Regions from separate parts of the Homo sapiens genome. Here all the other regions are linked to region 1. Evidence: promoter capture Hi-C in 16 types of primary human blood cells and fetal thymus (Javierre and others, 2016). All regions are on one chromosome and are shown on one strand. Each heading gives the region's core, a stretch centred on a gene start or on the middle of the fragment in contact. The rest is flanking DNA. Distances are from core to core; before and after follow the strand shown. Region 1 holds the start of FER1L6-AS1 (FER1L6 antisense RNA 1). Region 2 overlaps TMEM65 (transmembrane protein 65). Region 3 overlaps RNF139-DT (RNF139 divergent transcript). Region 4 overlaps TMEM65 (transmembrane protein 65). Region 5 overlaps TMEM65 (transmembrane protein 65). Region 6 has its middle 8.6 kb from the start of TYW2. Region 7 has its middle 34 kb from the start of TMEM65.

The links. Contacts are between HindIII fragments. The CHiCAGO score rates a contact against its expected background, and 5 or more counts as called.
Region 2: a contact is called between a fragment that was not itself captured here and the fragment with the promoter of FER1L6-AS1 in region 1, in 8 of 17 cell types (M2 macrophages, M1 macrophages, neutrophils and 5 more). The highest score is 7.8, in M2 macrophages.
Region 3: a fragment that was not itself captured here is called in contact with the fragment with the promoter of FER1L6-AS1 in region 1 in 8 of 17 cell types (M1 macrophages, naive CD4 T cells, naive B cells and 5 more); the score reaches 8.7 in M1 macrophages.
Region 4: a fragment that was not itself captured here is called in contact with the fragment with the promoter of FER1L6-AS1 in region 1 in 3 of 17 cell types (M2 macrophages, M1 macrophages and naive CD4 T cells); the score reaches 5.4 in M2 macrophages.
Region 5: a contact is called between a fragment that was not itself captured here and the fragment with the promoter of FER1L6-AS1 in region 1, in 12 of 17 cell types (M2 macrophages, M1 macrophages, M0 macrophages and 9 more). The highest score is 9.8, in M2 macrophages.
Region 6: a contact is called between a fragment that was not itself captured here and the fragment with the promoter of FER1L6-AS1 in region 1, in 16 of 17 cell types (M1 macrophages, activated CD4 T cells, M2 macrophages and 13 more). The highest score is 15.8, in M1 macrophages.
Region 7: a fragment that was not itself captured here is called in contact with the fragment with the promoter of FER1L6-AS1 in region 1 in 15 of 17 cell types (M2 macrophages, endothelial precursors, total CD4 T cells and 12 more); the score reaches 16.9 in M2 macrophages.

The regions. Positions count from the first base shown.
Region 1 is chr8:124,039,430-124,042,129 of GRCh38, reverse strand. FER1L6-AS1 (FER1L6 antisense RNA 1) reads left to right here and starts at 1,348. Exons shown (of 6, transcript NR_040044.1): 1 at 1,348-1,504. FER1L6 (fer-1 like family member 6) reads right to left here. Exons shown (of 41, transcript NM_001039112.2): 20 at 2,124-2,248. The HindIII fragment of the contact is 11,424 bases long and covers 1-2,700 here.
Region 2 is chr8:124,353,770-124,356,469 of GRCh38, reverse strand. The region is part of intron 1 of TMEM65 (transmembrane protein 65); the gene reads left to right. Among named protein-coding and RNA genes, the nearest start is that of TMEM65, 18 kb to the left of the region's middle. The HindIII fragment of the contact is 8,020 bases long and covers 1-2,700 here.
Region 3 is chr8:124,462,531-124,465,230 of GRCh38, reverse strand. RNF139-DT (RNF139 divergent transcript) reads left to right here. Exons shown (of 2, transcript NR_108047.1): 2 at 1-2,700. Among named protein-coding and RNA genes, the nearest start is that of RNF139-DT, 11 kb to the left of the region's middle. The HindIII fragment of the contact is 1,028 bases long and covers 929-1,956 here.
Region 4 is chr8:124,314,255-124,316,954 of GRCh38, reverse strand. All of the region lies in intron 6 of TMEM65 (transmembrane protein 65), which reads left to right. Among named protein-coding and RNA genes, the nearest start is that of TMEM65, 57 kb to the left of the region's middle. The HindIII fragment of the contact is 4,894 bases long and covers 1-2,700 here.
Region 5 is chr8:124,331,444-124,334,143 of GRCh38, reverse strand. All of the region lies in intron 1 of TMEM65 (transmembrane protein 65), which reads left to right. Among named protein-coding and RNA genes, the nearest start is that of TMEM65, 40 kb to the left of the region's middle. The HindIII fragment of the contact is 1,534 bases long and covers 578-2,111 here.
Region 6 is chr8:124,440,841-124,443,540 of GRCh38, reverse strand. No RefSeq gene overlaps it. Among named protein-coding and RNA genes, the nearest start is that of TYW2, 8.6 kb to the left of the region's middle. The HindIII fragment of the contact is 6,278 bases long and covers 1-2,700 here.
Region 7 is chr8:124,404,919-124,407,618 of GRCh38, reverse strand. No RefSeq gene overlaps it. Among named protein-coding and RNA genes, the nearest start is that of TMEM65, 34 kb to the right of the region's middle. RefSeq lists a silencer at 984-1,184. The HindIII fragment of the contact is 5,784 bases long and covers 1-2,700 here.

The sequences.
Region 1 (2,700 bases), core at 99-2,598:
GTACTTCACTAAGGCCCTGGAACTCCACAGTGTTGTGGCAGGTGGAGGAGGGCTCCAGGGGTCCATCCTATGAGAACTCCCTTGCTGTAGGAAGGAAGCCTCAATTACAACAACAACAAGCAGTCACATAGGCCTTAGTTTTAAGCAAGGTACTGTCCTGGGTATTTTATCCTCTGGAAGGAATGTACAAGGTTATCATCCCTATTTCACAGATAAAGAAATTGAGGCACAAACAGAGGTTTGTTTAGAGTCACACAGCTGATAAATGGAAGAGCGTGGATTTTGACCCAGACAGCGCAGCTCCAGAGTCTATACTCATCATCACCATGCTCTATACTAACTCTCAAAACACAGGAAAGAGAAAGCAGTCTGTTGTCTTCTCATTTTTATGCTCAGTCACTGAATGAGGATGAAGTCACCTTTCTTCTGAGGTGTCTCCTGACTTCTCCCCCAGGTAGAACTAACCCTTTCTCTACCTGGCTCTTGTAGGACTCTGTACAGCCCTGCACCCTGAGGCTTATCATAGTGTAGTGACTCGTGTGTCATGAGGCCTGCATCCATGCCTGGATTGTATATTACACTGGAGCAGAGTCTGGTTCCTCTCATCCTCCAGAGCCCAGCATGTGGCCTGGCAAAAAGCCAGCACCCGACAGGCACTGGTTCAATGAATGTGAGGCTGGTTCACATCACGCTGTCAGTGTGCGAGTCATAAATCAAAATGCAGTCTACTCTATCATCGAGGTCATGGGCTTTGCCCTGGAGAACAATGTTAGCCCTCTCAACATCAGCCAATGTCATGGCCATCATTTATCAATCATTTTATAAACTTAAATATCTGCTTCTTCATGACAGTCCCATCTTAAAATGACAAACCTGAGGTTTAGTGAGTTGTGTTACTTGCCCAAAGACATGCAGCCAAAGAGGAGATGAGCTAGAAAGTAACCTTAGGGCACTGTGTGTGCTAACCCATGGTGCTTAACTCCCTGAGATGGGCAATTCTTTACTGAGTTTTCCTCTTTTCAAACCACAAATCAGAGAACAGAATAAATGTTTAAAGAACAGAATCTAATGAGACAAGCATCCTACTGGATTTTTGCTGATTAGGAATCCTTTCACATTTTAGTACTAGTTGTATAGGATAGGGAGAAAGACAGAGGAAACAGGCACAGACCCATACTATGATTTGCATATTTGTCTTTTCCAAAACTCATGTTGAAATTTAATCCCTAATGTCACAGTATTGAGAGGCGGGACCTTTAAGAGGTGTTTGGGTCATAAAGGATCTGCCTTCACAAATGGATTAATCTATGATTAATAGGCTGTCATGGGAGGGGAACTGGTGGCTTCAGAAGAAGAGGAAGAGAGGCCTGAGCGAGCATATTAGCATGCTCCACCCCCTTGCCACGTGATGCCCTGTGCTGCCTCGGAACCTGCAGGGTCCCACCAGCAAGAAGGCCCTCATCAGATACGGCTCCTCAACTTTGGACCTCCAGCCTCCATAACTGTAAAAAATAATTTCCTTTTCTTTAGAAATTACCCAGTTTCAGGTATTCTGTTATAAGCAATGCTAAATGGATTAAGACAACCCATCTCCCTTAATACTCACAATATCCATTATGAAGTAGTATTTTCCAGAGGAGGGGGACTGTGAAGCATAAAGATGTTAAAAGCATGCGAAGCTCCCCAGCTGGTGAGTGCAAAGTCTAGCGCATCTTGACCACAAAACTGGAAAATGTTTCTCCCCACTGAGACCCCTTCATAATGATTGGATCATAAACCTCCTGCAGGTTGATCTGTGCTGTTTCCTCATTTGCTCCTTCCCCACTGCACTTGGCCTCGTGCCTGGCACTTTAGCCTTCTCCGCCTCATTCCTCTTTTTCTCCCAGCCTTCCTTCGCCTCAGGGACTTGCATCCTTTGCCCTAGGACAATGAATCACACTGAAACAATAGACCTTCCCCACACCAGTCCTTCTGGGCACATATTCGCTTTTCAGTCTGAAACATCTACACACCCAAAGATGCAGGTATTTGCAACATGCCCCCGTTGTTTCTTTCCTGGGATCTTCTGTGGGTCAGTTGCAGGCTGCAGGAAAGAAGCAGGCTGTCTTGGTTACCCTGGTTACCTTTGTTGTCTGGCAGTGAGAAAGGAACGTGACTTTGGCAAAAGGGTCTGAAAGTCCATTGCTGTCAGCTGCGATGAGGCCCCGGGCTTGGTACATGTGAGCCCTCAGCTGAAAAACATGCTGTTCTGTGGACAAATCATGGAAGGGGGCAGGTGTTAGTGGGCTTTTCAAGAACAGTGTGTGCACATGTGTGTCTGTGTGTGATGTCCATCTATGTATCCACAGACAGACAAAAGGAGACCACCAGCCACATCCACCCTCCTCTGAGACAGGAATGGAAGTCCTGAAGAAAGGGAAGAGGTGATATTTATGGGGTACTTTGAACCCAGCCATCTTCCTTGGTGCTTTCACCAGGTTATGTGTCTTATTCTTCACTAAAACCATGCGAAATAGCATGCTCTCCACTTCATAGATGAGGAAAAATGGCCCACAACCAGGTTAAAAGACTTTCAAAAGTTTGCACAATTAACCCATGCCGGAGCATCGATTTTATTTCTGATTCTAAAATCCTCTTCTCTTTCTAAAATATCAAATTTTACTCCCCAGTAATTCTCCTGTTTATACAGGCATGAGTGTG
Region 2 (2,700 bases), core at 132-2,631, 310 kb before region 1:
TTGATTTTATCTGAGGTCATCTCTTTACTCATAAGTCAGAAATGTGAATTTACTTTAAGTATATGTTACTGGTGTAGAGAGAAAAGGAAAACTCCTTTGCCCTCTGAAGATTCACTGACAGAAGGCAGATTAATAAGAGAAATGGCCTACAAATTTATTGGCATGCATGGGGGAAAATCACAGAGTGATTACCCGCTATCCTAATGGGGCCCACATACTTATATAGCCTTCCTTATTTAAGAAGGGAGGGGAGAGATGGGTAAAACAGGTATGTATTAGGCCATTCTTATGCTGTTATAAAGAAATAACCTGAGACTGGGTAATTTATTAAAAAAAGGTTTAATTGGTTCACCGCTCAGATTAAGGATTGACTCGTAGAGATTGGGAGAAGGATCCAGGTAGAGTTTCATGTTCTTCCTACAATACTGCTATTCCCCTCCTTCAGGTTTCTACTACAATGGGCACTTTCTTAGGGCTTTCTTGTCTTTTTTGTGTGTATCTGGTGTGATTTCTAGCAACAGAACCTGCAAGAAGGTGTGGACTCCCCCAGTTTATGCATACCCTAGTAGCTTCATACTGCCTCAAAATCTCCCACTCTGCCTTCACCTGTTCACCTACTATTTAGCTGTACCCTCTTATGGTGTCCAGTTGCAGCTATCCTAAGTAAGCAAGTACTAAGATCCTGTCTGTCCTTGCAGGTGCCTGCCCCTCTTTTGATTTAGGGCCAGTTGATTGCTCTGTGACTTCAGTTCTCTTATGGTTTAGAAATAAGCCATCAATTTGAATTGAATTTGACTGTGTTTCATTATAAAGGTGGGATGAAGCCCCTATGTTATATCACACAGTGAAAACTAGACCCCTGCTTCCCAAATTTTAATTTGCATACATCATCTGGGAATCTTATTGAAATGCAAATTGTGTTTCATTAGGTTTGAAGTGGGGCCTGAGATTCTGCATTTCTAACACATTCCCAGGGATTTCAGTGCTACAGGTCCAGGGACCATATTTTGAATAGCAAGGTTACAGAAAGTATTTTTGTTTTTAAGATAGGAAAGAGTTGAAGACATGTAGATAGTAGCTTCAGGCATGCTTGAATTGTGAAAGAAAATAGGCAAATGTGATAATGATAATATAAGATGTGGTACATTTTGTGAACTGGCTGAATTTTATGTGCATGAGAAAGATCTTCTGGTTTAAAAAACGTCCTAGAATTTTTTTTTTTTCTGCTCAAAGGGACTTCTTAATGACAATTTGAAAAAAGGTGAATTGTTAACCCTGATTTTGTAGCTATGCAACAATCACATTTGAGAAATAAATGCCGTGTAAGAGATGTGTTCTTTTTGCCTATCTTCTTTTACTTCCCATTATTACCTGGAATACACTGTCCATTGGTTAGTCTAATTTCTTTATTGAACTGTGACCTCCATCATACTTTTTTCTTTTCTGCTTTTCTTCATGTTGTTCTCCTGTGTTTTTCCCACCGAATTTTTTTATTCCTTTTTACATTTTGAAACAGTCTTAAATTTACAGAAGAGTTTCAAGTATGGCACAACAAACTTTTTTTCTCCTCTCCTAAATCATTGGATAATAAGTTTCTGATATGATGCCCTATCATTCCTCTCACAGATTGAGTTCCTTGGCAAGCAGTTTCTGAGACAAAGGTTAACATGCAAGTAGTTGATTGAGTAGTGTGCTGGTGAAATTCTCACCTTGGGAAGGGAAGGGAAAGAAGCAGGCTTGGGCAGAGGTAGAAGTAAAGGTGTAATATAGTTTCAGTGGAAGCCTCAGCTAACACCGTAGGGAGTTTTGGAGATGGGATGACACTTTTGTGTTGTCTGGAGTTGGGCAAAAGGGTTGGGCCTCTGCTTCTGTGAAAACAAGCTATTAGATGTGGAGTGCCCTGGGCAGGGTGCAGATCCCTGAGCGAGGCAGCATTCTTCAGCTGTGTCGGTCCCCCAAGATGACTGATTGTTGAGGGCTGTCTATTATCAGGACTTCTGGCAGCTAAGGATCAGATTATGTACCACATTGTCCACTGCAACGGGAGTACTGTGGTATGGATTTCCTATAAACAAGAACATTGCCCTGGATAACCACAATATAACATGGGTACTTTACTACCATCTAATACTCTGATGTCATTCAAATTCCACCAATTATCTCAGTAATTCTTTAGAGCAAAAAGATTCAGATCAGAATTGTGTGTTGCATTTAGTTGTTACCTATTTTTAATTTCCATCCATCTGGAACAGTTCCTTAGTCTTCCCCTTGAGTTGCATTGATCTTGACACTTTTGGGGATTACAGACCAGTTTTTTTGTAGCATGTCTTTGGGTTTTTTGTAGCACGTCTTTGAGAGAAACCAATTTGGGTTTCTCTCTTTCCTCATGAATATATTTCAGTTATGCATCTTTGACAGGAGTATCACAGGATTGATGTTATATTCTTTTTCATCCTATCATTTGGCCCATGATTTCAATTTGTCCTTGGTGATGTTAACTTTGGACGTTTGATTAACATGGTATCTATCTGACTTATGCACTCTAAAGTTACTGTTTTCCTTTTTATAATTTATAAGTCTTTTGTGAAGTGATACTTTGAGTCTATGAAATATCCCATTCATTTTAGCAATTTATATCAATATATTCTATTCAGTAGATTATAATTCATTACTATCATTTTTGATCTTCCAGCTACCCTA
Region 3 (2,700 bases), core at 193-2,692, 420 kb before region 1:
ATCAGTTCTTACCAAGGCACATTAGCATGGATAGAGTTGTTTTTGGGATTTTGCACTGCAGATGGCCCAGCCTTGCCACAGAATGCCAGGAGTCGACCTTGTGATTCTCCCATTGGAGCTTGCCTTCAACTTTCATGGCTTCTTATCACATTTACTCTTGTCCCATAGAATATCCTGAATTGGTCCATGCAACAGGGCTAAATACACCATACCTGCTAGAGAACTTTTACATGCTATGGATCCCACTGAAAACTGGCAGATTTCTATCTCACCCAGTTTACGAGTCAGAACAGTACTGCCAACTTCTGAATTCCCACAGAAGCCTACACAGCTTGGTGTGCTTCCCTGGTGGCAGAATAATTTTGGTGAAATGAGTGGGTGAGATGCAATAATTTGTCCTTTACTGTGAAGGGGATATCTTGGCATTCAAGCAGCCTACTGGGCCCTAAAAGTTTCACTGAGGTAACAGCTTGCTGGGTCTTAAGGATTATTTCCCATCCTCCAGTGTACAGTATGCTAGCTGCTTATTATTCACCTTATCCAGCTAGCATGATGTCATCAATGTGGTAGGTCATTGTGACATTATGTGGGATGTTTAGATGGTCTAGATCTCTTCGGATTATGACGCAGTGTGGAAGAGTTAACATAACCCTAAGCCAATACTATAAATGGGTACTGCTGTCCTATATAAACACAAACTTAATTCTTGTCCAGCACTCTCAGGACCCAGTTCCATACACATGCTCATGGTTCCTGTTGGTACATGTTGGTTAGATCCTGCATCTCTTTGGTCATATAAGCCCATTTGGAATTGAAAGTAGACACACAGAATGAGGGCAAAACACCTGCAGAACAGCTGCTTCATCATGGTGGGCTTTTTTCATATTAGGTTTTGTTACCTTTGAGTTTTTAAATTATGTGTAAAGCTTCGATTAAAAAAATAAAAATTATTAAAAAGAAACTGAGACAGTCTATCCACCTATCTCTATTTACCCAGTGCTGTTGTTGTGTTACATAAAATTCAATTTTAGCTTCATGTTCATGCAATATTTTCGTTTACCCTTGATTCAACCTTGACCTTTAAAAAGCCAAAAAGACAAATACCTATTTTGACACTGGTTCTGATCTCTCTGAAATTCTGTGTGACCAATGGTCAAGTAACCTTGCAGGTTATTTATCATGTCTAATCTGAAAAAAGTCATTGTATTTACTAATATTTTAATATTCACCTTATAGGTAAGCATTCTAAACATGATTGTGGCAAGAAATTCTTATATGCTTTACATGTTGAAATTCTGTGTCAAATGAAGTACATATGTATATTATTGCAAGAGTGAATTTCTTCAGTAATGATTGTGACAGCTAGTAAATTTAAGTAGAAAGTAATTATAAACTTCCAAATACTTTTTTTAAATGGGCAAAATATATGAAACAATGGCCCTGAAGGCATTGGACATAGGCAGTGAAGGATAGTAATCCATGAGAGATGGAATGCAAACAAGGTGAGCAATACAATTGCTCCAACTTGCTGCCTGAAGAAAGGCTTTGGCATGGGGAGAGGGAACCCAGAAGACTCTGTGAGGTGAGGAGATATAAGTGGGAGTCCTGAGAGCCCAAGGCAACTAGAGTTCACAGGGTAGAATACTAGAGAGGACAGAGTGACACAGAGAGAACTCCAGAGATCTGCTGACCATTCTCCTGAAGTATTAAGCTAAATAATGATTAGTACATGCATGAGAGGAAATAACCAAAGGCTTGGCAAAGAACCATCAGAAAGGATTAAAGAAAACAATACTCAAAGCTCACACAGGATGGTGAATGATTCCTGATCCCGTCAGCAAGAGTGGAAAAGATCCTAATTCACAAGGCACCAGTTAGAGTACTAAGAAAGGTCTTGCTTCAATAGCGGGAAAAATTAACCCTCGACTAAATGCTCTAGAATAACCTAACAAAGCTTAAAAGAGAGACCCAAAAACATTCAAACTGTGTCCAAATAACTTAATCATACTCCAGAAGAAAGTTCAAACTGTTTTAGGGATATGAAAATAATCTACAAAGTAAAATTCACAATGGCTGGCATCCAATCAAAAATTACCAGGCATGCAACAGAAAAATACAACCCATAATAAGAAAAATAAAACATTCTGGGCTAGGTGCAGTGGCTCACACCTGTAATCCCAGCACTTTGGGAGGCCAAGGTAGGTGGATGACCTGAGGTCAGGAGTTCAAGACCAGCCTGGCCAACATGGCGAAACCCCGTCTCTACTAAAAATACAAAAATTAGCAGGGAGTGGTGGTGCTCACCTGTAGTCCCAGCTATTCAGGAGGCTAAGGCAGGAGAATTGCTTGAACCCAGGAGGCAGAGGTTGCAGTGAGATTGTGCCAATGCACTCCAGCCTGGGCAACAGAGCAAGACTCCATCTCAAAACAAACAAAAAATAAAACATTCTGTCAAAACTGACTCAGAAATTACAGATGATGAAGATTATTAGACAAGGACATTAAAACAGTTATTATAATTATATTCCATGTATTCAAGAAACCAGAGGAAAGACTGAAGATATTACAGACAATGAAGGTATAAAAAGACCCGTATCAAACTTCTAGAGATGAAAACTCCAATGTCTGAGATGAAAAATATGTTAGATGAGATTAATGGCAGATTAGATATTGCAGAAAGAAAGATCAGTGAACTTGAAG
Region 4 (2,700 bases), core at 157-2,656, 270 kb before region 1:
GACCTATTTGCTTGTTGTAATTTTTACTTTATAAAGGTTGAAAAGTCTTTTAAGAAAGTAGAATGTTAATTTTGGGCTTTTCCTTTTAGTTTACATGTGTCCATATCTTACAATTTGTAAGTAAAGTGAGACTAGCCCCTGATACCAGCTGGAGTTTTGAGGGAATAAGGATATTCTAACATTCTAGCAATTTGTCTTAAAAATTTTAGCATTAAAGTTGGGATCAGAAGTTTATTTTCCTGGGGCATAATAATTGTTTTCTTTCTGTATTAAAAGCAGGTTCATTTTCTCTTCTCTATGACAAAAGCATCAGATTACTAAACTAGTATTACTATATTGAGTGTGTGTGTGTCTGCGTGTGTATTGTGATAAACCCCTCACTGGTTTATGGCAACAGTGATTCTGTTCCTTAGTTGTTGACTCTGCTTGTTTTTAGAATCAAATCTTCTACTCTGTAACATAACATTTTGATTCTATACAGCCTGAAGTATTTGAAGTTAGTGACCAGCCATCTACTCATGACAAAAGCTAACTCTGAAATTTACCCATGATAGAATAAATACAGATACACATGCAGGTTCCAGTTGACACAGGTGTATTTTAAAACCTCACTTGTAATTTGGTTGTTTGAAATTCAAAAAATATTTTCTTATAAAACAGTATTACAGATGGGACTCAAGTTCTACAATTAGCCCCAGTGTAGTTAACTATGGGGCCTAGAGTATTGTAAGACATAATGATAATGTATAAATAAATGTTTTCACAATGGAAAAATTTGTTTCAGGTCCTGGATCAGGGAGTGAGAAAAGTATATCACTTTTTTTCCTCTTCTCCACCCTATTGACATTATATCTCTTGAGATAATTGGGTCAGAAATCACTGACTGGTATTCCTAAAGTGAGGGGCAAGGAAAGCCTTGGTTGCAAGAGGAATTTAACAGAATGGGTGGGAAGTGAAAGTGGGGCCTATTGGCAATGGTTATTTTCTGTATATGGGAAAGTCAGGAGTCTGAAATAGAATATAATGATTTCTCTATGCATATATTCAAATGAGTAAATATGTTAAAGTCAAAAAACAAGAAGCTAGGATTAACTTTATCAGCATGTGGAATGAAGAAAATTTCTTCTTGTTAAAACTCTGCATGAATGATACCTTTTAAAGTTTTGGCATAACGAAAATAACAGTTTTGACTATTAATATCAAGCAGTGGTCATACTACTAATACCACTACCACCACCAAAAGCCTCAAAATAAGAGTTGAAAAATTTTTATGCAAGCTATTGTCAAAATATTAATGTCTACTATTAAATTTGTTAGAAAAACTGTAGGATGTGGGCTGGGCGGGGTGGCTCACACCTGTAATTCCAGCACTTTGGGAGGCCGAGGCGGGTGGATCATGAGGTCAGGAGATCGAGACCATCCTGGCTAATACAGTGAAACCCCGGCTCTACTAAAAATACAAAAAATTAGCCGGGCGTGGTGGTGGGCACCTGTGGTCCCAGCTACTCAGGAGGCTGAGGCAGGAGAATGGCATGAACCCAGGAGACGGAGCTTGCAGTGAGTCGAGATTACATCACTGCACTCCAACCTGGGCCACAGAGAGAGACTCCGTCTCAAAAAAAAAACAAACAAAAAAAAAACTGTAGGATATGATAGCTAAATAGACAATGTATAAGAGAAAACATTTCATTCAAGACTAAAGATTATGTAGCTATCATAGTAACTGTAATGTTTGATAGAACTTATTTTGTCTTTCCCTGTGTACCTAACTAGAAGTTCCTGGAGGAGAGAGACAGACTGCATAAGATTAGTCCATCTCCATGGTACACCCAGTACAGAGTTTGACACATAGTAGCTTCTCAATAAATATTTGTATGAGGAAATGAAACTTAATTGAAAAGTATATAAACTTGATAGTCATCATAGGAATGCAAATTTTGAAAACCATTTACAAAAATAACAATTTTAAATTTTTATAATGATCTGGGTGTGGTGGCTCCCAGAGCCTGTAATCTCATTTGGGAGGCCAAGGTGGGAGGATTTCTTGAAGCCAGGAGTTCAAGATCAGCCTGGGCAACATAGGGAGACCCTGGCTCTACAAAAAAAAAAAATAATAAAAGTAACAAAATTATCTAGGCATAGTGGCATGTGTCTGTAGTTCTAGTTACTGGGGAGACTGAGTCAGGAGGCTCGCTTGAGCCAAAGAGTTCGGGAAGAGATCAGGAAGATGGCTTGAGCCAAGGCTGCAGTGGGTTATGATCATACCACTGCGTTCCAGCCTAGGTGACAAAGGGAGACCCTGTCTCTAAAACAAATAAAATAAATAAAAATGAAATAAAATTTTTATAATGTAGGTGAAGTTGCAGGATAATTGGTATGTGTGTCTACATTTATGTATACTGAAATTGCTATGTAAGTATGTGCAGCGTTGTCAAGGATGAATGCTTCATGAAGATGCACAAATATTAATACTGTTTGACTTTTAAACAAATCATTGGGGAAGAAATATACATGGAAATGCTTATTGTTATTTCACTTATAATGTTGAAGAAGTAGCAGTGGCTATGGCGGTAAAGAGAGATTTAAGTAGAATATAGACCCGTCAATTCAGTTGAACTTAGAAGTCTTTAAGTTTGTGTAGCAGTTTGGAAAAGAGTTTGTGAGAAAATGTGTGGCTATGCAGGGGTACGGATTGAGGAA
Region 5 (2,700 bases), core at 95-2,594, 290 kb before region 1:
AGCATTGATTTTTGTTTGTTTTAGCAGGCATTTAATGGTTAGGTTCAAACTGCAAACTCTTGTGGGATGCCTTCAAATCTTTACTTATTTTGCCCTTAGTCGGTATTTTTGGAGTTTTCCCTGCACATGTGTGGTTCCACAAGCCAGCTGTAGACTTGAACTGAATGTATGCACAGAATTTAGGACTCTTCCTTTCTGACTCTATCCTTTCCAGGATTCCTCTCTCACTTTCTAGTTGTTTGGTTACCTGGCACCTCATCCTCTGGTTCTTCAGACAGAGACTGAGGAATTTTCATCAGAGCTTTAGTTGCTCTGCATGTTGTGACTGGAGCCTGCCCACAGGCTGAAAGCTGCAACAAACAGGTAACTAACTCACTTAGTGTCATTTCTTTTTCTGTGTTGATTCCCCTCTAGATCAACCTGGTTTCAATAATTTTCCAGTGCTTTCAGGTAGTTAATTTGTTGTATTTTTGTTTGTAGTTTGTGGTTGTTCCATGCAGGAGAATTCCTCTGATAAGAGGTTACTCAGCCATTATGGAAAGTAATATGGCAAATGTGGTATGGTGAAGTACAAGCTTAATAGTTATCTTATTGTTTTAAAATATCCAGAAAAGGAAAAGAGTATGATGTATATAATACACACAGACACACACACACACACACACACACACACGCACACACACACACAGATGGAAAGAACTGTTTTAACTCCATAGTTGATTTAATAAAACATTGGAGCAGAACACATTTCCAATGTAAGTGTAGATAGTTTATTATATGTCAAAAGAAAATTCTGAAATTAATTCATAAAATATATATATATGGAAATAAACCTTCTGGGATGTATTGTGACTATTTTCAGGGATGTTATACTGGCAGTAATTACATTTTAAAACCCATACAGATCACTGAAACCTTGGGCTGATTTACAAGTTCCGTTTTGTATTTTATAGGTAATTTTTTTTTTTTTTACTTCTGATGTATGTTTTGTTTTGATTCAGTTAACATAAGAAAGAATAACTTCTGATTTTAAAAAAAATTGGGCTGGGCATGGTGGCTCACGCCTGTAATCCTAGCACTTTGGGAGGCCGAGGTGGGTGGATCACCTGAGGTCAGTTCGAGACCAGCCTGGCCAACATGGTGAAACCTCATCTCTACTAAAAATACAAAATTAGCCAGGTGTGGTGGCACACACCTGTAGTCCCAGCTACTCGGGAGGCTGAAACAGGAGAATCGCTTAAATCTGGGAGGTGGAGGCTGCAGTGAGCCGAGATCGCGCCACTGCACTTCAGCCTGGGAGAGACAGAGTGAGACTCCATCTCAAAAAAATAATAATAATATAAAATAAATTAATAGATACTTCCTAATAAGATTGTCACTTTCTAGGAAATGTTCTTTTCATGATTCCTCTTGTACTCTGTAGGTTCTTTGTGAAGCAGGAGGCAGAATCTGTGTTTTGATTTTACTTTCACCTCTGTGCCAGTAGTTTTCCTCCCTGTTGTATCTCCTTTATTTTATATTTCTTTCTCTTAACATTTGTTATTGCCTCTGGTTTTTAATTTTTTATGTGTAGTAGGAAAGAAAGAAAGGAATATTGATTACATTATTTGATTTTTTTCTTTATTACTACACGTTTTTTACTTGCCTAGCCCTTATCTTTTCTTCTTCGCTGTTGTAGAATATTTTTAATGTTTTACTCAATGAGTTGGGAATTTGAAGAAGTAAAAGCAAGGACTCCATATACTCTCATTCTACTGGGGAGGTCCTGCTTGTTGAATTTTTAGGTATTTCAAGATGTTCCAGTCAACTGACAAGGACTTCTCACAGTGTCAGAACTGTAGTGATGATGAGACTAATGCAACTAACAAATAGTTCTGGTATGTAAATAACCACTTTTGCATGTTTACTTCACCAGAAAATTCTCTGGAGTATAGCAGTATCCTGTATTCTTAGTTAGAAATTTGGCAAACCACTTGGATGCTTTCAAAGGAGATTTTGAGTTAATGATGCTAATCAAAAATAAGAATATATTTTAATCAGATGTGAAATTCTGTAAGATTAGTATATATATCTTCATTTCTTAATTCTTCTAAAAAAGGAAAAATAAAGCTTAAGTTTGCTTCTTAGAACTTTCTAAATACTATGAAAGTTAATTAAACTCGAGGTTTTAGTGTATTTCTTACTGTAAAGCCATTATGGAACTTGGAAAATACCAGTCACTAATGTGGACCATATTTCCTTTTATGTAGGTTATCAATGGAGATTTGACTTTTACTTTTTTATACTAAATTCCTTAGTTCTTTTGTTGTTATAAAATATAAATAAATATTTTTGAAGATGTACATCTAGTTTGTAATGCGTTTCTTTGGATAATCTGGTTGTACTAAATCTTTAGAGTGATCCACTCTATGGGTTCTTCTCTATATGATAACAATTAATTCTGTCCAGTTGGTTGATCATAAAGAAGGTAGAATTTTCTACCTTTTTACCTTAAACAAATGGTGAGATGCTTATTGTTATAAGACCAGGTAGGCTGCTGCCTGTAATAATTGTTAATTTTTAGGTATAATGTTGACACGTAAAGATACTCTCTGGCTTATACTTGGGAAAACTTTGTTACTTGTGATTCTGAACAACACCCTACTTTTAAAAGTTGTTTTAATGTATGGAATACCCTATTATCCAGTGTATAGGTTCCAA
Region 6 (2,700 bases), core at 170-2,669, 400 kb before region 1:
ACGTGAGCCACCGCGCCTGACCCTACTTGGTGGTTTTTCTCGAGGGCTATATTACTGTCAGAGGTGGCTGTAATGGATGTCAAGTGGCAAGTTGAATCTGTATTCCAACATACAGCTACAGCTTTCAATACTACACAGCATGCCATTATCCTACTAACTGAAGAGACTTCTCAAATTAGACAGGTAGCCTTACGAAACTGCATGGCTTTGGACATTTTAACAGCGGCTCAAGGGAGATCTTGTGCTATCATCAAAATGGAATGTTGTTTGTATATTCCATAATATTAACATAATATTACTCAGGCCATGAAGGACTTAGACACCCATATCTCTGCCATTAACACACTGTCAGTTGACCCCATATCAGGGTGGTTCCAGCAATTGTCTGGTTCATGGAAAACCTTTTTGTTCAGATGCTTGGAACAGATTCTGTTTTGTTGCTGTGGAATGTATTGCTGTTGTAATTTTTGTGCAAGAAAACAAGGTAAACCTAGCCAGGCACAGTGGCTCACACCAGTAATCCCAGCACTTTGGGAAGCCGAGGCAAGCGGATCACCTGAGGTCAGGAGTTTTAAGACCAGCCTGGCCAACGTAGTGAAACTCCATCTCTACTAAAAATACAAAATTAGCAGGGCATAGTGGGACACAGCTGTAATCCCAGCTACTCAAGAGGCTGAGGCAGGAGACTCGCTTGAACCTGGGAGGCGGAGGTTGCAGTGAGCCGAGATCATGCCATTGCACTCCAGCCTGTGCAACAAGAGCAAAATGCCGTCAAAAAAAAAAAAAAAAAAAAAAAAAGAAAAGAAAAGAAAACAAGGTAAACCTATTAAATAGCTTCTTTAAATTGAACACTTACTAATTTTCCAGATTTCACCTTTTGTTGAAAGTCACAATAATGATTGGTCCTCACCACGCCAACACTTGCTGAGTGAACTCCTCTCCAATCTAAATACAAGGGATCCCAGTGGTTAGGGAGGAATATCATTGCTCCTGTTCACCTTGAAGACATTTATGAAGATGGACCTCTGTCCCTCTGTACCCCTTAGAATTAAGGATCCCCTTATAAAAGGGAGGAGGAAAATATATCAGAGGTGTCCAAACCAGAGTGACTCCGTCTTGAATAAGGCCAAATGAAGTGAAACCTGCTGGATTCCATTCCCAGGAAGCTAGGCACTCTCCTTCACAGGACCTTTATGGTTGAGAGAATGAGTTAATGATAAGTAAACAAGACCCAGAACTTAACAGAAAGTCTTGAAGTCCTGATATCTCAAGACCAAAAAGTATTCTTAGTCTAAGAATAGGCTTCTTATATTAATAGATAATAGGTTTCTTATACTAATAGGTAATAGTATATCCCTAAATTCCTGCTGAACTCAATAGTTACACAAGAGGATAACATCAGCCTGTCACAAGCTGGTCACAAGCCTTTATAATAAAGCACATAAGTTCATTATTATTCTTAGCTTGCTTTCTTCTTCTTGTTTTTTTTTTTTTTTTTTTTTTTTGAGACAGAGTCTCGCTTTGTTACCCAGGCTGTAGTGCAGTGGCATGATCTCTGTTCACTGCAACCTCTGCCTCCCAGGTTCAAATGATTCTTCTGCCTCAGCCTCCTTAGTAGCTGGGATTATGGGTGCACGCCACCACACCTGGCTAATATTTTATATTTTTGATGGAGACAGGGTTTCACCGTGTTGGCCAGGCTGGCCTTGAACTCCTGACCTCAAGTGATCCAGCCTCCCTGGCCTCCCAAAGTGTTGGGATTACAGGTGTGAGCCACCATGCCTGGCCAGCTCCCTTATTATATAGCATTTTATTTGTGTTCAGAGTCCTACTCTTGCTTTTTTTTTTCTTTTCCTTTTTTTTTTCTTTCAAGACAAGCCTTATCTGTCACCCAGGCAGGAGTGCAGTGGCACAATAATGGCTCACTGCAGCGTTGACATCCCAGACTCATGAGATCCTACTGCCTAGTCTCTCTAGCAGTTGGGACTGCAGGTATGCTACCATGCAGGGCAAATTTTTTTTATTTTTAGTAGAGATGGAGTCTCATTATGTTGTCCAGGCTGGTCTTGAACACCTGGTCTCAAGCAGTTGTCACACCTCATCTTCCAAAGTGCTGGGATTATAGGTGTGAGCTACGGTGCCTGGCCTCCTCTTGTTGTTAGTTCTGAGGATGCCCTACTCTGTAATAGAGTAGTCTTTAATAAACTTGCTTTTTTCACTGTGCTCTGTGACTGGCCCAGAATTCTTTCCTGTCAGAGATCCAAGAACTCACTCTGTGGTCTGGCTCCAGACCCCTTTCCTGTAACAGTTTGAGCAATAAAAGTAGCCCGGGCTGGTACCAAGCACCAAAGTCAGATTTCTCAACAGTCAGGACCACCTCCACTCAGAGTCCCTTCTGTTGGATGCCAATTTGTCAACCAAAATATGTCTGACACAAGTCTCAGTCAATTTAGAAGTTTGTAAAGTTTAGAAGCCAATGTAAGGCACACGCCAGAAGAAGGGAATATAGAAACCACAGAAACAGTCTGCGATCTGTGCCTTTCTCCAAAGATGATTTTGTGGGCTTCAATATCTAAAGGGGAAAAGCAGGCTGGAAAGAGGGAAGGTCCAGTCACATCACAGAATCCACATGTTGCAAGAGACAAGGAACAGGTAGGGGAATAGTCAGTTATGTATTTGTCTCATGCTCAGTAAATCGGC
Region 7 (2,700 bases), core at 97-2,596, 370 kb before region 1:
TGCCATCAGCAAGCTGGAAAACCCAGAAGGTGGAGGTATACTCTGCATAAGCCTTAAGGCTTGAGAAGCAGGAGCGCCAATGTCCAAGAACTGGAGAAGATACATGTCGCAGCTCAAAAAGACAACAAATTTGCTCTTCCTCTACCTTTTTTTTTGTTGTTCTTGTTTTGTTTTGTTGTTGAGACAGTCTCGCTCTGTTGCCCAGGCTAGAGTACAGTGGCATGATCTTGGCTCACTGCAACCTCCGCTTCCCAGGCTCAAGCGATTCTCATGCCTGAGCATCCCGAGTAGCTGGGATTACAGGAGCATGCCACCACACCCGGCTAATTTTTGTGTTTTTAGTAGAAATGGGATTTCACCATGTTGGTCAGGCTGGTCTCAAACTCCTGGCCTCAAGTGATCCACCTGTCTTGGCCTCCCAAAGTGTTGGAGTTACAGGTGTGAGCCACCACGCCCACCCCTCTACCTTTTTATTCTTTTTTTTTTTTTTTTTTTTAGAGAGACAGGGTCTCACTATGTTGCCCAGGTTTGTCTTTAACTCCTAGGCTCAAGCAATCCTCCCACCACAGCCTCCCAAAGTTCTGGTATTAGAGGCATGAGCCACTGTGCCTGGCATTTTTAATTCTATTCTGACCCTTAACTGATTACATAATGCCTACCTACATTGGTGAGGGTGGGCCCTCTTTGCTCGCTGATTCAAATGCTTCTTACAGGCATTCTAAGAAATACTGTTTCATCAGCTATCTGGGCATCCCTTAGTCAAGCTGACAAATAAAATTAACCATCACAGAAACATAGACCTCATTAATCGTCTGATAAAGCAGTTTTTGTGGAGTGGTTAGGGTGGAAGTCCAGCTGAGAGGGTTAAAGAGTAAAGGGGAAAAGAGGAAGTAAAAATGCTAACCGGGAATATCTTCAAGTTTTTCCCTGGAGTGGAAAAAATAGGGCTGTAGCTTTATGTGCATGTGTGTTCAAGGGAAGATCTGTTTTTGTTTTGAAGATGGTTTTATGCTTGTGGAAGTGTTCAGTAGAGAGAACTGGAAGATGGCAAAGACTGACAGTTAATTCTAGAAGTGATCTTCCGAAGCAGACAAGATTGAATGAACAAGCCTCTGATAAGAACAGAAACCATGGCTGGGCACGGTAGCTCACACCTGTAATCCCAGCACTTTGGGAGGCTGAGGTGGGTGGGTCAACTGAGGTCGGGAGTTCGAGACCAGCCTAACCAACATGGAAAAACCCCGTCTCTACTAAAAATACAAAATTAGTCAGGCATGATGGCGCATGCCTGTAATCCCAGCTACTCGGGAGGCTGAGGCAGGAGAATCACTTGAACCCAGGAGGCGGAGGTTGCGGTGAGCCGAGATCGCACCATTGCACTCCAGCCCGGGCAACAAGAGCAAAACTCTGTCTCAAAACAAAAACAAAAACAAAAATGAAAACAAAAACAAAAACAGAAAACATTTACATATTGTAAAGGCTGAGAAGGCCCAGAGAGGTAGAGAAAGTTGTGATAAAAGGCCAGGGCCAGGCAGTGGCTCACACCTGTAATCCCAGCGATTTGGGAGGCTGAGGTGGTGGATCACCTGAGGTCAGGAGTTCAAGACCAGCCTGGCCAACATGGTGAAACCCCACTTCTAGTAGAAATACAAAAATTAGCTTGGCGTGGTGGCATGCACCTGTAATCCCAGCTACTCAGGAGGCTGAGGCAGGAGAATAGCTTGAATCCTGGAGGCGAGGGTTGCAGTGAGCCAAGATCACACCATTGCACTCCAGCCTGAGCAACAGAGTGAGACTCCATCTCAAAAAAAAAAAAAAAAAAAAAAAAAAAGTTGTGATAATAAAGAAGATTGGGCCAGGTGCGGTGGCTCATGCCTGTGATCCCAGCACTTTGGGAAGCCAAGAAGGGCAGGTCACTTGAGTCCAGGAGTTCAAGACCAGCCTAGGCAAAATGGCAAAACCCTATCTGTACAAAAAATACAAAAATTAGCCAGGCACAGTGGAGCATGTCTGTAGTTCTAGCTACTCAGGAAGCTAAGGTGGGAGGATCATTTGAGCTCGAGAGTCAGAGGTTGCAGTGAGCCGTGATCACACTATTGCACTCTAGCCTGTGTAACAGAGCAAGATCCTGTCTCAAAAAAAAAAAAAAAAAAAAAGAAAAGAAAAGAAAGGAAAAGGTTGTGATTGTGATGCTCTTTACTCACAGGCCTCTGCTCAGGAACAGGTGTGGAAAATTAGCCAATTATCCACAATTGGGTTTAGCTAGAGTTGATATTTTGCCAAACAAGCAAGATGGAGAGTGAGGACAGCAAGCAAATTAATAGTGTTTCAAAGATAGTGATTATAAGGCCATTGACTTTAGACGAGGCTCAAAGGGAGGGGAGGACCTACGACGGTTGATGAGTGATGAAAAAGTTAAAAGAGTCAATAGGTCAGAGGCCCTGATAGGGTCAAACAATTGTAGGTTTTGAGGAGTAAGAATAAGTCATCTAGAAGAATAGGAAGTGGTGGTCAGAGTACAGAGCTATGATTGAATTTGAAGTTGTTGAAATTATTTGTGCTGACCAGGCCAGGTATGACTATGAGGAAAGTGGCCAAAATACGGGGAGTAAAGGATCATTGCAGGGAGAGAAGAGATCAGGATGCTTTGCACTAAACTAGGTAGAGAGAAGGTTACCAATACCAATAAATAGGCACAAA